Linked DNA regions of Homo sapiens: regions 1, 2 and 4 are each linked to region 3. The links are contacts of gene promoters, found by promoter capture Hi-C in blood cells and fetal thymus (Javierre and others, 2016). All regions are on one chromosome and are shown on one strand. The core of a region is centred on a gene start or on the middle of the fragment in contact, and the rest is flanking DNA. Distances in the headings are between cores, read along the strand shown.

Region 1 (2,700 bases), core at 156-2,655, about 23 Mb after region 3:
CCTGGAGGTGCGTGGGGTGGGGAGGGACCAGGCTGTCCGAAGGACCGCTGTGTCGGGGCGACAGCGTTCGCAGAGGGCGAGCACAGCGACAACAAAGCCCCCGGCTCCTGCCGAGGTCACGGCCGCGGCGCGCAAAGCGTTACTTGCCGGTGTCCTGGGTGATTGAGGCCTTTGAAACTCCCTCTGTGCCTCTAGCAAGCCTAGGCTCTTAGGACAAAAGATGATTTCCCAGAGTGAGTTTACAGCCTTTTCTGGGTGAAAGGTCAAACACTCAGAGGGCACCAGAGTGCAACCATTGATTACTTAGAGAATTCACTGAGCTCAGTGTTCCGGCCGCACCGTTCAGTTTTTTAGTGGAAGGAAAATCCACATAACATAAAATTAGTCCTTTTAAAGGGTACAATTCAGTGCCATTTAAGACATTCACAGTGTCGTGCAACCATCACCTCTATCTAGTTCCAAAATACTTTCACCCCAAAAGAAAAATTTATGATCACGTTCCTACATACACTCCCCTTTTAGTGAAGGAGACGACTTTATGCAACCATTCGCTTAGAGACTGGGAAAAAAAACGATTTAAATTGACTCATCGATTCTGTTGCATCTAATGCCAAAAGGGCCTATTACCAGAAAATAAGTTTGTAGCAAAGTAGAAGAAAATTGTGATCAGGTGAGAGAATTTATTTTTATAATCAATTTTTTAGGCCTTTGATATTACCCTGATTATATATGGTACTACTAGTGTACTGATTATGTATCATTCTATATTACCTCTTTTCTGTAGGAGCAAGCTTATTTTCATACACCGTGGGATGTAGAATTAAACAAGGTTTTAAGAACTAGAGGGCACAACTCATTCTTTGTGTCTCTTTCAATCTCAGTAAGAATTATTCAGAATTCTTCCACTGGTAATGGTAGATCCAGGAAGAGCCAGAAGGTTCAGGAACAGTTTTTGCCTTTTCTTTTTTGCTTTTTAGCAACCCTATTAACTGGGTTTTTTGTTTTTTGTTTTTTGTTTGTTTGTTTGTTTTTGTTTGTTTTGTTTTTGGAGACAGGGTCTCACTCTATCTCCCAGGCTGTAGTTCAGTGGTGCAATCATGGCACACTGCAGCGTCAACCTCCTGGGCCCAAGCGATCCTCCCACCTCAGGCTCCCAAGTCGCTGGGACCACCGGTGTGCACCGTCATGCATGCACCTAGGGTCTCCCTGGGTTGCCCAGGCTGGTCTCGAACTCCTGGGCTCAAGCAGTCCACTGCCTCAGGCTCCCAGTGTGCAGGGATTACAGGTGTGAGCCACCATGCCTGGTCCCTGATGTCTTTCTCCATCACCATTTGACATGTTACCTCTTCCTTCAGAATTTCTTTTTTTTTTTTTTTTTTTTGAGACAGGGTTTCGCTGGGTTGCCCAGGCTGGAGTGCAGTGGCGTGATCTCAGCTCACTGCAGCCTCTGCCTACTGAGTTCAAGCAACTCTCTGCCTCAGCCTCCTGAGTAGCTGGGATTACAGACGCCCACCACCATGCCCAGCTTATTTATTTATTTATTTTTGTATTTTTAGTAGAGATGGGGTTTCACCATCTTCACCAGGCTGGTCTTGGACTCCTGACCTCGTGATCCACTCGTCTCAGCCTCCCAAAGTGCTGGGATCACAGGCATGAGCCACCGTGCCTTGCCCTTCCTTCAGAATTTCTATGTCAGTCCCTTTCTCTCCATTCCTAGTCATTCAGCAGACATTTATCAAGATCTGCTGTGTTTCAAGACAAATGAATGAGTTATACAGTTCCCAGCCTACGGGGCACAGTCGCAGGCCAAGCCTTTGCCACCTCTTACTAGGAGTAATAGCACTGCACATTCTCAGGCTTGGTCTCTCTCCACACTTGCTCCCCTCTGCTTCAGTACATGTTATCATAGCAGTTCTCAAGGTATCCATGTTGCCTGACTCAGCTGTTTTGATTAACTTGCAGGAGTCTACTGTCTGTACTCTGTTGTCCTACTTAAGTATGGCTGACTTTAGAAGCTTCTCAGAAGCTGTACCAGAGAGAAGGCACATCAATGCTGTTTTCCACACAGCCTGTGTTGGTGGGCTTGCAGTCATTTTAGTTCCAGCATTCGTGCCCTAGTCAGGACACTATGGCATGTATTGCTCTTTGTGCTTAGTTTATCATCAGCATGTATCGTCAAGTGCAAAAGTAGTGATGCCGTCAAAGGCCTAATGAATGGAGACAGATAAGAGAGCAAACAAAAGTATACGTAATTCAGTAAAACTGATTGGAAGAGGTAAATGTTACTTGGGTCTAATAAGTAGAGACAGATAAGAGCAAACACAAGTATACCTAATTCAGTAAAACTGATTGGAAGGGATAAATGTTACCTGGATATATAAATTTTGATGTTAGGAATTTGACATGTTGCAACATTTGAAAAGTGCTATATGTGTGGAGTCTACCAGATGTCAACAAAAGGCTAGGAAAAGTAACTGATAATATAACACAGTTCAATGCTGTCATTATCAGATTATCTACATCTTCCCTATTTCCCTACATATCTAGAAATTGACAAGTGGAATTGAACTTGCAGGAGCCAGATGTGATTAAAGAATCTGAAGAGTAAATAGTGCCCTGCTTGCAGACAGATTTATTTCCATCATTGTACAAGTCAGAGCAACTCTAATTTGTAGGACTGGGGTGGATCACAGCTGTGCA
Region 2 (2,700 bases), core at 149-2,648, about 25 Mb after region 3:
TTTGTTCTTGCTACCTAGAATGCAAGAACACTCTTTGCCCATTCCTTTTCCATCTTTAAATCTTAATGCAAAGGTCAGTTTCTCCAGGTAGTATCTATTTCTGATTGTCCAGACTGGATTGGGATCCCCTGTTGGATTTCTCACAGTAGCCTGTTTTTGATAAGAATTCATCACAACTAAAAATTGTATATTTATGTGATTCCTTCTCTTTAGAGAGGGGCTGTGATTGTTCACCATTGTGTTACCAGAGCCTAGGGCTCAATAAATTATTTACAGATGAATCTAGTCCATTATGTACAATAATACATATTCAGTAATAACTACTTATTGTTGAACCTTTACTGAGTGTAGTATGTACATAATCTGGTAGCTCCCAGTCCTTTTGTGGAAGCTTCCTCTTAAGCTGTTCCCCCCAGGTCACCACTCTCCAGGCACAACTCTTGACTGCTTCATGATGTTCACTCTTGCTTCTCTGCCTGGAACATTACTCTTCTAGAACCACCTTTCTTAGCTGGAGATTCTCATCTGAACCACAGAGCACAGAAAGTGATATGAATAGCTATCCATTTCTTTTCAAAGATGGTTCATAATGAATATAATTTTAGATGTATAGGAGAGAAGTTAATTCATTACATAGTGAGTGGTTTGTTGGTAAATGCTGGTTTATCAACCCGTTCTTCAGGAAAAACACTGATTTGTAGTGTTTGCTGGATTTCCATGATGTAAATATTCTCACTGTGGCAGATTTCAAGATACCGTTATTAAACTGGCTCACAAAATTTATGAAAATTTAAGAGCCATTGCTTATAATGGGTGCCTTAGGGCAGAGGCCAGCAAACTGGTAGTCGAAATCTATTGTGCCCATTTGCTTATGTGTTATCTATAGCTCCTTTCAGAATAGACCATGTGGCTGGTAGAGCCAAAAATATTTACTGTCTAGCCCGTAACAGAAAGTTTGCTTACCCTGGTATTAGGGCTTCCTGTTAATATATCTTGTTCATCAAAACACTTCTCATTGGAAATTTTTACCATGACTTATTTTTTATAGAAATACAATGTGAGCTGGGCTCAGTGGTTCATGCTTGTAATCCCAACACTTTGCGGGGCCAAGGTGGCAGGATTGCTTGAGCACCATGGCTCAGTGATCATGGCTCACTGCAGCCCCCACCTCCTGGAGTTCGAGACCAGCCTGTCTACAAAAAAATAAAAATTTAGCTAGGTGTGGTGGCACACACCTGTAGTCCCAGCTAGTCCAGCAAGGTTGAGCCCAGGAGTTTGGAGGTTACACTGAGCTATGATTGCACCGCAGCATTCCAGCTGTGGTGACAGAATGAGACTTGGTCTCTTAAAAACAAAAAACAGTATGAGCCACATATGTAATTTTCCTATTAGCCACTTTAATCAAAAGGAAGGACTGAAGTCAATTTTTCAATAGTGGTGACTCACACATAACAAAATTTATCATGTTAACCATTTTTAAGGGTTCACTTCAGTGACATTAAGTACATTCACATTGTTGTACAATTGTTACCACCATCCGTTTCCAGAACTCATCTTGCAAAACTGAAACCCTGGACCGTTTAAACAGTAACTCCCCATTTTCCCCATTCCCCCACCTCTAGCAACCACCATTCTTCTTTCTGTCTCTGAATTTGACTACTCTAGGTATTTCATATAAGTGGAATAAGACAGTGTTTGGCCTTTTGTGATTAACTTATTTCCCTTAGTATAACGTCCACAAGGTTCATTTATGTTGTAGCATGTGTCAGAATTTACTTTTTTTTTTTTTTTTGAGACAGGTCTCACTTTGTCACCCAGGCTGGAGTGCAGTGGCACAATCATGGCTTGCTGCAGCCTCCACCTCCTGAAGTTCAAGTGATCCTCCTGCCTTAGCCCCCCAAGTAGCTGGGACTGCAAGCTCACATCACCATGCTTGGCTACTTTGTATTTTTTTGTAGAGACAGGGTTTCACCATGTTGCCCAGGTTGGTCTCAAACTCCTGAGCTCAAGCGATCTGCCCCCTTGGTCTCCCAAAATGCTAGGATTATACAAGTGTGAGCCACCGCACCCAGCCAGAATTTACTGTGTATGACTGAATAATATTCCATTATATGTATGTACCACATTTTAAAAATCCATTGATCTGTTGCTGGTCGCTTGGGTTGCTTCCACCTTTTGGCTATTGTAATTTTAATATGCTTTATTTAACCCAGTATGTCTAAAATATTTTAAGGTGCAATTGATATAAAGACTATAAAATATCTTGCATTTTGAAATACTAAGTCTTTGAAATATATTTTGTAATTTACACTTAAGCATACCTCAGTTTGAAGTAGCCACATTTCAGGTGCTTAATAGCCATATGTAGCTAGTGACTGCTGAATTAGCACAGCTAATAAAGCTTTCAGGATGTGCTTCCACCTGCCTTTTCTCCTGTTTTCATTGCATTTCAGCCAGTTTGTATTGTCTCTTCCCCTACCCTCAAATATCACTGGCTCTTTCTTCCCCTTTTTGAACCTTTGCAAATGCTGTTAATGACAATGACATAATGGCCAATATTTATTGCAGGCATGATTTATAAGGCATGATGCATTATATTTTTTTAAAATGTCACATAACTTTATGATGAAAGCACTATTATTATCCTTTTTTTAAAAAATGAAGATGCTGGCCAGGCATGGTGGCTCATGCTGCTAATCC
Region 3 (2,700 bases), core at 154-2,653:
ATACATCACTTTCTTTATACCAGACCTTGCTCTTGTTAATTGGAATCTGCAAGTGGTGAGCGACTAAACCTGCGTTTTGGTTATAAAACTCCAAAGGCCATCTGAAATACTGAGACCTAAAACTTACAATCGAGATGGATAGGGAATTACTTTTTCCTTTACTTCCTTTACTAAATCCCTTTGTCTCCAAATCTATCAAGCAATAGTTTCTTTATCTGCAAACTGTGGATTATGTTACCTGTCTTGTCTGCTTTAGAAGGGAAACAAAAATTATGTAGAAATTAATAGGAATACTATTGAAACAGGAAAGGGACAACTTGCAAGGTTTGAAGCAATCACATGTTGAGTACTCAGTCAAGGCTTTCTTTTTTTTTTTAAATCAAAATGTTGATTGGGATATTTTATGGGTAGCAGGCTTGGATCCCAGCACTTTTCCAATAGGGGAACAGAAGCACCTTGTACCGCCCCAGAGTTTCCCTTCCCCCACACAATAACCCTAAAGCAAAAGCTATTATTATTATCATCGCCATGTGACAGAGGAAAACTTGAGATTGGGGGCTTAACTGACATTACATCAAGTCTCAAAAAGAAACAGTGGCAGTTTGAGACTTTGATCTACGACTCTTTTAAGAGTTTAGATTGCGTCCACAGCGAAACCTGCACAAACAGTTGTCAACAGCGGCTGCAAATTACAGGCTTATGAGGAACGTTTGAAAAATGCCAAGAGTTCTTTCCTCAGGCCAAATACTATGGTAGATAAAAGTATAGCCTTTGGAGCCAGAATCCCTGAGTTTGAATCTTGCCTGTGCCACTTGGTAGCTGTGTGACTCTGGCTGCGTACTTAACGGCTCTGTCTCAGTTTTTCTGTTGGTAAAATGAGGATAATAACACCTTCTTTGTAGGGTTGTTCTAAGGATTAAATGAGTTAATAGGAGTGAGCCACTTAGAATAGGGCCTGTTATATGGTAATCTCTATTTAAAATCCTGTCAGATACACCAAAGAAAACACTTTAAAAATATCTGTTAAATAAATCAGTAAAACAGAATCGGGGCATTGGTTCTTTAAAAGTACTCCCCCACGGTATTCTAGTATGCAGCTTGGGTTTTAATATCTGAATGTGGCGCCTTTTGGGATCTCGCCTCGCGAGAAATTGACATTAACGAATGAGTGAAAGGAGCTTCCCCCCCCCCCCCCCTCCAGGAAGATATAGACCCTGCAAACTTGTTAGCAGGACCTTGCGGACACCAAGGAGGCGGAGGCGTTTTCCCCATTTCCCCTTCGGGAGTTGTAGTTTCCTGCAAGCGCTTGGTGGGTCTGTAAACCAGCGGGGAACTACAACTCCCACAATCTCGCGCGCCTCCCGCCCTGCCTCCCGCCCGCGTTTCTAGCCCGACTCCCATTACCGCCCCTCGGGGGCGGCTGTGGCGGAGGAACGATGGCCGACGGCGGCGGCCCTAAGGACGCGCCAAGCCTGCGGAGCTCTCCCGGGCCGGCGCCGCGGGTCCCGCGCGCGGTCGGGCCGAGTGGCGGTGGCGGGGAGACCCCGCGGACCGCGGCGCTGGCGCTGCGCTTCGACAAGCCCATTAAGCAGGCCTTCTACAACACCGGGGCCGTGCTGTTCGTGTGCCTGTGCTGCGGCGCCGCGGTGCTGGTCTACTTCATCCTGGAGGCCTTCCTGCGGCCGCTGCTCTGGGCCGTGCTATGCGGCACTTTTCTGCACCCCTTCAAGAGCTCGCTGACGCGCCTGGGCCGCCACTGGCTGCAGCGCCTGCACCGCGCGCACACGCCCATCGTCCTGGCCGCGCTGCTCCTGCCGCTCTGCTTCGTCGACTACGGCGTCGAGGCCCTGGGCGAGCAGGCGCTGCGCCGCCGCCGCCTGCTCCTGCTGCTCGGCGCCGGCGGCCCGCTCCTGTACGGCCTCTACTGCCTCGGCAGCTACTTGGGCGTGCAGGTGCTGCTGGTGCACGCTGCCACGCTCATCTGCCGCGGGCTGGACTACTTCAGCAGCCTGTGGGTGAGTGAGCGGCAGTCCGCCCCCGTCCCCCGCCCGTGGTCCCGGCGCTCTGGGGTGCAATCCTGCAGCTGTTCCTCCCGGTGCAGGGGCGACGAGGGGCCACACCTGTGCTGCAGTGACCGTCCGTCTCCGCTTTCCTTCTCACACCTCAGGAATTTGGCGGACATTCTTCCAAAAAGGGGGCGGGCGTGATTTGAAACAGCCTCCCTGCTTTTCGCCTTGTTTCAATCCTAATAGGCCCTCTTAGGGGGACAGTGCCCTGGATTGAGAATCGTTATTTCGCTTTGCAGAGAGAGGCCTCAGAGCATGGCAGTGGGGCTTGGTTTTACTTCTGGTTGGAGAGGGCGGGGGTGCTTCGGCCACCCTCAGTTCTGCGCATCTGAATGTCAGAGCTGGAAGGGACCTTAGAGATTCTAGGCCAACTTGCCATCCTGCAGATAGGAAAGGTGACCTCTTACCAGGCTAGGGCTACTTAGGGACAAAGAGGGGTTTGGGTGTCTTAGATTTCTTACAAGTCCTAAAACAAAGCTTGCTTCACTGGCTGGTGCTGCCTCTCAGTTCAGGTGATTCCTGTATAATTTGTGCAAGGCACTGGGTGCTGAGCTGCCTGTGCTTCTTCCTCTCCACGCTTTACTTTTAGGTAACTGCTTTTGTTGTGCAGGGACTGGTGTACCACAGCACACCT
Region 4 (2,700 bases), core at 172-2,671, about 25 Mb after region 3:
TTAGTGAACCTATTTTTGGTGGTCATTTTTTTTTTAAGACAGTCATTTTAAAATGGTGGCTGAATTTCCCAACCCACCCCCAAACTAAACACTAAGTTTAATTTTCAGCTCCTCTGTTGGACATATAAGTGCATCTCTTGTTGGACATAGGCAAAATAACTTGGCAAACTTAGTTCTGGTGATTTCTTGATGGTTTGGAAGTCTATTGCTGGGAAGAAATTCCATCATACATATTCATGCTTATAATAAGCTGGGGATTTTTTGTTTGTTTTTGCAAATGCTTGCCCCTACTTTTCAACAATTTTCTATGTTAGTTGTGAAGAACTAAGGTGGGGAGCAGTACTACAAGTTGAGTAATGGTATGAGTATATACCAGAATTCTGATTGGCAGCAAGTTTTATTAATCAGAATAACACTTGGTTATGGAAGTGACTAATGCTGAAAAAATTGATTATTTTTATTAGATAATTTCTCACCTATAGACTTAAACTGTCAATTTGCTCTAGTGTCTTATTAGTTAAACTTTGTAAAATATATATATACTTGTTTTTCCATTGTATGCAAATTGAAAGAAAAAGATGTACCATTTCTCTGTTGTATGTTGGATTATGTAGGAAATGTTTGTGTACAATTCAAAAAAAAAAAAGATGAAAAAAGTTCCTGTGGATGTTTTGTGTAGTATCTTGGCATTTGTATTGATAGTTAAAATTCACTTCCAAATAAATAAAACACCCATGATGCTAGATTTGATGTGTGCCCGATTTGAACAAGGGTTGATTGACACCTGTAAAATTTGTTGAAACGTTCCTCTTAAAAGGAAATATAGTAATCTTATGTATTTTTTTGTGTGAAGTGTTTTTCTAGCATTTATAAGTGAAAGCTGGCAGGGGTGGTAGTTGGGCTCATAATTAACGTGGTAATTTAGCAAAATGAGAGCCTAGTCATCCAATTTTTTTTTTCTTATAGTCAGCCAGAGCTTTCCTCATTACCTATGAGAAATTTTGAGTGAGTTACTTGGTTCCTTTCTCTAAAATAGCTTTAGTTTGATGTTTGAGAATATCGGAGATAATGTAAAATAACTGCAGAGTATGGTTCCCGGCTCATATTTCTGAAGTACTACTTATTAACCTCCAGCTGTCCAGAAAGCTTGAAAACTGTTTTTGTTTTGTTTTGTTTTGTTTTTTGAGACAGTGTCTTGCTGTTTTTCCCAGGCTGGAGTGCAGTGGCATAATCTTGGCTCACTGCAACCTCCATCTTCTGGGCACAAGCAATCTTCCTGCCTCAAAACAGATGAACAACTATATAGGAAAGGAGTCATGAATGTAATTATTGAATTTAGGTCAGAGGCTTGTGTATAATAAAAGTAACAGTTGGGCAGTTCTAGAATTCATGTAAGTATTAATAGTATGAACAGAATAATGTCTTTTAAGGGAAGTAGAGTTGAGTGACATTTAGTTTGGGGAGGGACGTAGAGTGATCTTTTGATTAATGAAGAACATGAAGTAAATGTCAAAATATTACTTAAAACTAGTGAATGCTACCTGTGGTATGGTTTCCCCAGTGTGGTTGAGTTGGGGTTGCTCAGGGTGAAATGAGCCCTTACCCCTAAAGAAAAATGACAAGGACACTTTAGTCAAATTGTTAATCCTACTGAAGGAAAGCATCCCTGGAGAGAACACTGGCTTCCAAAGCTTTTATCTGTTACCTGTAAATGAGTTATGTAACACATGGACCATTAGCTGCAAATGTTTTCACTTTTGCATTTTACAATAATTTCAGACCTTAAACACATCATTCTACTGAAGACTTAATGGATTGAAGAATATCTGGTATTGATATCTTTGATATACAGCTTTGGGAGGGAGAGGGGCCTTTTGCATTGCCACTGCTATTGATTGGTAAATGGTATTTAAAATTTGGGTGAGAATTGGGACAGGTTGGGAGAATTTTCACAAAGGGTGGGAGAAGTGAACATAAGCTCTTTAATTAAATGGAATATTGAGACAATTTTGTAAGAAGTTACTGGTGTATAATGCTGACTTAGTTTCAAAAATTTAGCCTAACTTTTTGTAAGTTAATTACCAAAATGCCAACAGACAGAAACCAAGTTGTACTAGTTATCTCAAGAATTTAAAACCTTTCCCTACTATTCAAATTTTGTTTGCCTTTGTTTTATTGTACTGAGACATATAATGTAAAATACTAAATCTGATCTAATAGCAAAGAAAATCAAACCAAACAGCAAAATTTCCTTTTAAAAAACCCTTTCATTAGTTTTAAGGTTTTTTAGTACTCAATTACTACCGTTCCACGTGAATTAGGTAATGAATTGCTTCAGATTGCTGTGATTCGAAGTAAATTTAATTAGCCTCGGTGCAGTGGCTCACACGTGTAACCCCAGCATTTTGGGGGCCAAGGTGGACAGATGGCTTGAGCCCAAGAGTTTGAGACAGCCTGGGCAATATGGTGAAACCCCATCTCTACAAAAAATTAGCCAAGCATGGTGGCGCGTACCTGTAGTCCCAGTTAGGAGGCTTGAGGTGGGAGGATCGCCTGAGCCCGGGAAGTGGAGGCTGCAGTGAACCTTGATGGCACTACTGCACTACAGCCTGGGTGACAGACCCTGTCTCAATCCAGTAAGTTTTTATGTTAAAGAGAACCAAAAAAAGGAGAAGAATTTTTGTTTTTAAAAAGATGGTC

The links. Contacts are between HindIII fragments. The CHiCAGO score rates a contact against its expected background, and 5 or more counts as called.
Region 1: a fragment that was not itself captured here is called in contact with the fragment with the promoter of TMEM245 in region 3 in 4 of 17 cell types (naive CD8 T cells, non-activated CD4 T cells, activated CD4 T cells and 1 more); the score reaches 10.9 in naive CD8 T cells.
Region 2: a contact is called between a fragment that was not itself captured here and the fragment with the promoter of TMEM245 in region 3, in 1 of 17 cell types (naive CD8 T cells). The highest score is 5.0, in naive CD8 T cells.
Region 4: a fragment that was not itself captured here is called in contact with the fragment with the promoter of TMEM245 in region 3 in 2 of 17 cell types (total CD4 T cells and activated CD4 T cells); the score reaches 5.7 in total CD4 T cells.

Annotation. Positions count from the first base shown.
Region 1 is chr9:86,279,276-86,281,975 of GRCh38, reverse strand. All of the region lies in intron 1 of ISCA1 (iron-sulfur cluster assembly 1), which reads left to right. LOC124902194 (a long non-coding RNA gene) reads left to right here. Exons shown (of 2, transcript XR_007061634.1): 1 at 1-7; 2 at 523-2,700. Among named protein-coding and RNA genes, the nearest start is that of ISCA1, 1.9 kb to the left of the region's middle. RefSeq lists a silencer at 1-57. The HindIII fragment of the contact is 1,224 bases long and covers 794-2,017 here.
Region 2 is chr9:83,698,005-83,700,704 of GRCh38, reverse strand. The region is part of intron 1 of UBQLN1 (ubiquilin 1); the gene reads left to right. Among named protein-coding and RNA genes, the nearest start is that of UBQLN1-AS1, 8.5 kb to the left of the region's middle. The HindIII fragment of the contact is 2,010 bases long and covers 394-2,403 here.
Region 3 is chr9:109,118,650-109,121,349 of GRCh38, reverse strand. It overlaps TMEM245 (transmembrane protein 245), which reads left to right and starts at 1,403. Exons shown (of 18, transcript NM_032012.4): 1 at 1,403-2,015. The coding sequence starts at 1,437. RefSeq lists silencers at 1,254-1,303, 1,444-1,613, 1,964-2,073 and an enhancer at 1,724-1,773. The HindIII fragment of the contact is 5,277 bases long and covers 1-2,545 here.
Region 4 is chr9:83,966,221-83,968,920 of GRCh38, reverse strand. It overlaps HNRNPK (heterogeneous nuclear ribonucleoprotein K), which reads left to right. Exons shown (of 17, transcript NM_031263.4): 17 at 1-838. Among named protein-coding and RNA genes, the nearest start is that of MIR7-1, 2.3 kb to the left of the region's middle. The HindIII fragment of the contact is 545 bases long and covers 1,149-1,693 here.